2 separate regions of the Homo sapiens genome follow, and region 2 is linked to region 1. Evidence: promoter capture Hi-C in human tissues and cell types (Jung and others, 2019). All regions are on one chromosome and are shown on one strand. Each heading gives the region's core, a stretch centred on a gene start or on the middle of the fragment in contact. The rest is flanking DNA. Distances are from core to core; before and after follow the strand shown.

What was found. The method cuts DNA at HindIII sites, captures the fragments that hold promoters and counts their contacts. A contact is called where the count stands out against the background at its distance.
Region 2: a fragment that was not itself captured here is called in contact with the fragment with the promoter of SLC1A2 in region 1 in 2 of the 25 tissues and cell types used here (H1 embryonic stem cells and aorta).

Annotation. Positions count from the first base shown.
Region 1 is chr11:35,418,250-35,420,862 of GRCh38, reverse strand. SLC1A2 (solute carrier family 1 member 2) reads left to right here and starts at 1,305. Exons shown (of 11, transcript NM_004171.4): 1 at 1,305-1,913. The coding sequence starts at 1,897. It overlaps SLC1A2-AS2 (SLC1A2 antisense RNA 2), which reads right to left and starts at 1,806. Exons shown (of 2, transcript NR_186310.1): 1 at 1,756-1,806; 2 at 1-327. RefSeq lists an enhancer at 1,159-1,659. The HindIII fragment of the contact is 13,805 bases long and covers 1-2,613 here.
Region 2 is chr11:35,023,577-35,026,189 of GRCh38, reverse strand. The region is part of intron 3 of LOC105376626 (a long non-coding RNA gene); the gene reads left to right. Among named protein-coding and RNA genes, the nearest start is that of MIR1343, 83 kb to the right of the region's middle. The HindIII fragment of the contact is 5,690 bases long and covers 1-2,613 here.

The DNA of each region.
Region 1 (2,613 bases), core at 56-2,555:
ACTGGGTGCCAGACGCCACTTTAGGAGTTTTACATATCCTCTCCATTTCATTTAGTTCTCTTAGCACAGAGAAGTGGGAGAAGATAGTCCCATTTTACAGGTGGGATGAAGAGAGAGATGGAGGAATTTGCCCCAGGTTACTCAGCTAGAAGGTGGTGAAGAACTCAAGCCTTCGGATATCAGCGCCTGGCATTTAACTACCAATCGGTCCTGCTGGGACTCCGGCTCCTCTGGCACCATCCCCGGGACCTACTCAGAGAGTTTGCACGTGGCCGGTCGCGTTCCATCGTCTAACAAGGTCCAGCACAGCGCAAATCCGAAGATCGTCTACCCCGGGGAAAAAGAGAGTCTGTTTAATTCTCCTGTGGCCCTCCAAGTGAGTTCTTTTGGGTTCCATTGCCTAGACGAGGAAAGTGAGGCTTTGCCTGCTCTGCGCTCACAGGGTCGGCAAGTAGTGGGACCCTAGGTTCCTGCAGTATTCCAGAGATAATCAAAGCTGCACAGGTCTCGTCATTTTTATGCAAAGGCGTCCGGAAGGCTCGAACTCTCCCTTGCACAAGCCCATCTGTCTCTGTGCGCCGCCCCCGGGACACGGAAGCAGGCGGCGAGCAGCGCCGAGTGGGTGGAGAACCGTCCCCCGCCACTCACCCCTCGGCCAACTCTCCGCGCCTTCTCAGCCGGCACCCACGAGGCCGACCTCTCTCGGCCTAAAAAAAAAAAAAAAAAATCCCGGCCTCCCCTGCACCCCGCCCGCCGCCCCCAGGGAGCTGCATTAATATTAATCTCGCTGAATAATTGAAGGCCAGAGATTTATTCGAGCTTCGGCGGGGGAGGGAGCGCAGCTGGGCCGCGTTTAGGCTGCACCACCCGCGTGTTTCAGCCGCTCGACTCCGCTGGACCTGGGACCCCCAGACGTGGGAGGATGGGGTGGGTGTGCCTGCCTGTGAGTTTGGGGGTGAGTGTGAGCTGAAGCGGGTGCTCCGGGGAGTGAGGAGGGAGCGCCAGGGGCTGCTCCAGGGAGGCGGAGACGGAGGGGCATCCCGGGTCTCCGCGCGGTCGCCTGCGCTTCACCCCGCACGGGGTGACCTGGGGCCACGCGGGCTTCAGGGGAAACAATAGCTACTCCTTAGATCCTGGGCTCCTGCCACCGGCTGCCCAAGCCTTCCCGGACGAGCGGCGGGGCCTCTTTTCTTATTTGGCTAATTTATGGCGAGAGGCTGGGGGGAGGGATGGCAGAGGAGGGACCGCGACTGGAGATGGGGGCGGGGGGCGGCGGTTAAAGGAGTTGCCCGAGGCGGCGGCGCGGGTGATGTCAGCTCTCGACGAAAATAGAGAGGGATCGCCTGCAAATCCCCAGCTCCGGCGGGGCTAAACCTTGCAATCCCTCCCTGGCCGGCGCCGAGCCAGAGCGCAGCGGCCTCCACCGCCTCCCCAGGCGCGCACACACCCGCACACGCGCACGCACGCTCACCGTCCTCTGCCACCACTCTCTGCTCCCGCCACTCGCCGCGCCCGCGAGCCCCGCAGCAAAGCACAGGTGGCAGCGGCTGCAGGGGCGCATCGCCGGCGTGCGCCCTCCTGCAGCCCTGGGCGCATCGCTCTCTCGGGGAAGCCACCCTCGGAGCCCCCGGAGCTCCCCGCCAAGCGCCATCCCCGCGGGCGGAGGGGAGCGCGGGTCGCGCGCCGTGGAGAGCCGGGACGCGGATTAGCGCCCGCAGGAGCCTCCTGCGCCCGTTGAGGCGCTAAAGGGCTTACCCCGGAGGCGGGTGGAAGGGCGGGCAGAGGCTCCTCTTAAATACCGCTCCCGGCCGCACTTCGCGCTCACCCCGGCGTCCGCTTTCTCCCTCGCCCACAGCTGCCGGATAGTGCTGAAGAGGAGGGGGCGTTCCCCAGACCATGGCATCTACGGAAGGGTGAGGGGATTTTTATCTGTACCCGCGGGAAAGCGGGGTCACGCGCGGGGTGGTGGCGCCCCTATCCGGGATGCGGATAGAGAGGCGGCGGCGGCGGGCCTCGGAGGTGGTGGCGGAGCCGTAGCTTGGCTGGGGATGGGATGGTGGGGAGGGGATTGATTTTCTTTCCTGGAGATTGCTGCTTAATCCTTTGAAAATGCGAGAGGTGGAGGGTTGTTTTATTTTGATAAAAAGGGTAAGGTGCGCTGGGGGCCTGAGAGTGTGAGGAAGAAATCCTCTTGAGGTTACTTTTGGGATTTCAAAACAATAGGGGATTGGGCATAGTGTGAGCAGACACCGGGGTAGCAGCGCCTGGAGCGCGGCGCCCCAGGCCCGAGGCGGGCTTGCAGGTGGTGCCGGCTCGGAAGGAATGAGCCAAGACAGGGCCCTGGGGCGGGGCAAGGACCAGCGCGCGCGGCCTTGAACGCCAGGTTTGCAGAGTCGCCATGGAGATGCTGGGCCCGCTCCGATCGGTCCTTGTCCCTGGAAGGCGGAATCTCCCTGGCTAGCTCTAAGGAAGGGTGGAAGAGATTTGGGTGCTTCCCGGGAGGCGGGAAAACGTGTGGTTTGGGACAAGGGCAGGAGTCGCCAGACTCCAGCGGGCAGGGATAGCATTGGCTTCCCTATTCAGCCCGAGGATCTGGAGTCGTGTCCTGCCTCC
Region 2 (2,613 bases), core at 79-2,578, 390 kb after region 1:
CAGAGACAATCTGACTTCCTCTCTTCCTATTTGAATACGCTTTATTGCTTTCTCTTGCCTGATTTCCCTGGCCAGAACTTCCAATACTATGTTGAATAGGAGTGGTGAGAGAGGGCATCATTGTCTTGTGCCAGTTTTCAAAGGGAATGCTTCCAGTTTTTGCCCATTCAGTATGATATTGGCTGTGGGTTTGTCATAAATAGCTCTTATTATGTCGAGATACGTTCCTTCGATACCTAGTTTATTGAGAGTTTTCAGCATGAAAGGCTGTTGAATTTTGTCGAAGGCCTTTTCTGCATCTATTGAGATAATCATGTGGTTTTTGTCATTGGTTCTATTTATGTGATGGATTATATTTATTGATTTGCGTTATGTCGAGCCAGCCTTGCATCCCAGGGATGAAGCCAACTTGATTGTGGTGAATAAGCTTTTTGATGTGCTGCTGGATTCGGTTTGCCAGTATTTTATTGAGGATTTTCGCATTGATGTTCATCAGGGATATTGGCCTAAAATTCTTTTCTTGTTGTGCCTCTACCAGGCTTTGGTATCAGAATGATGCTGGCCTCACAAAATGAGTAAAGGAGGATTCCCTCTTTTTCAATTGATTGGAATAGTTTCAGAAGGAATGGTACCAGCTCCTCTTTGTACCTCTGGTAGAATTCAGCTGTGAATCTGTCTGGTCCTGGACGTTTTTTGGTTGGTAGGCTATTAATTATTGCCTTAATTTCAGAACCTGTTATTGGTCTATTCAGTGATTCAACTTCTTCCTGGTTTAGTCTTGGGAGGGTGTATGTGTTCAGAAATTTATCCATTTCTTCTAGATTTTCTAGTTTATTTGTGTAGAGGTGTTTATAGTATTCTCTGATGGTGGTTTGTGTTTCTGTGGGATCGGTGGTGATATCCCCTTTATCATTTTTTATTGCATCTATTTGATTCTTCTCTCTTTTCTTCTTTATTAGTCTTGCTAGCAGTCTATCAATTTTGTTGATCATTTCAAAAAACCATCTCCTGGATTCATTGATTTTTTGAAGGGATTTTTGTGTCTCTATCTCGTTCAGTTCTGCTGTGATCTTAGTTATTTCTTGTCTTCTGCTAGCTTTTGAATTTGTTTGCTCTTGCTTCTTTAGTTCTTTCAATTGTGACGTTAGGGTGTCGATTTTAGATCTTTCCTGCTTTCTCTTGTGGGCATCTAGTGCTATAAATTTCCCTCTACACACTGCTTTAGCTGTGTCCCAGAGATTCTGGTATGTTGTGTCTTTGTTCTTATTGGTTTCAAAGAACATCTTTATTTCTGCCTTCATTTCGTCATTTACCCAGTAGTCTTTCAGGAGCAGGTTGTTCAATTTCCATGTAGTTGTGTGGTTTTGAGTGAGCTTCTTAATCCTGAGTTCTAATTTGATTGCACTGTGGTCTGAGAGACAGGTTGTTGTGATTTCTGTCCTTTTACATTTGCTGAGGAGTGTTTTACTTCCAATTATGTGGCCAATTTTAGAGAAAGTGCAACGTGGTGCTGAGAAGAATGTATGTTCTGTTGATTTGGGGTGGAGAGTTCTGTAGATGTCTATTAGGTCTGCTTGATCCAGAACTGAGTTCTAGTCTTGGATATCCTTGTTAATTTTCTGTCTCATTGATATGTCTAATATTGACAGTGGGGTGTTAAAGTCTTCCATTATTATTCTGTGGGAGTATAAGTCTCTTTGTAGGTCTCTAAGAACTAGCTTTATCAATCTGGGTGCTCCTGTATTGGGTGCATATATATTTAGGATAGTTAACTCTTCTTGTTGAATTGATCCCTTTACCATTATGTAATGGCCTTCTTTGTCTCTTTTGATCTTTGTTGCTTTAAAGTCTGTTTTATCAGAGACCAGGATTGAAACCTCTCCTTTTTTGCTTTCCATTTGCTTAGTGGGTAGATCTTCCTCCATCCCTTTATTTTGAGCCTATTTGTGTCTTTGCAAGTGAGATGGGTCTCTTGAATACAGCACAGCAATGAGTCTTGACTCTTTATCCAGTTTGCCAGTCTGTGTCTTTTAATTGGGGCATTTAGGCCATTTACATTTAAGGTTAATATTGTTATATGTGAATTTGATCCTGTCATTATGATGCTAGCAGGTTATTTCGCCCATTAATTAATGTAGTTTCTTCATAGCATCGATGGTCTTTACAATTTGGCATGTTTTTGCAGTGGTTGGTACTAGTTTTTCCTATCCACGTTTAGTGCTTCCTTCAGGAGCTCTGTAAGGCAGGCCTGGTGGTGACAAAATCTCTCAGCGTTTGCTTGTCTGTAAAGGATTTTATTTCTCCTTCACTTATGAAGCTTAGTTTGGCTGGATATGATATTCTGGGTTGAAAATTCTTTTCTTTAAGAATGTTGAATAGGGGCCCCCACTCTCTTCTGGTTTGTAGGGTTTCTGCAGAGAGATTTGCTGTTAGTCTGATGGGCCTCCCTTTGTGTGTAACGCAGCCTTTGTCTCTGGTTGCCCTTAACATTTTTTTCCTTCATTTCAACCTTGATGAATCTAAAAATTATATGTCTTGGGGTTGTTCTTCTTGAGGAGTATCTTTGTGGTGTTCTCTCTATTTCCTGAATTTGAACGTTGGCCTGCCTTTCTA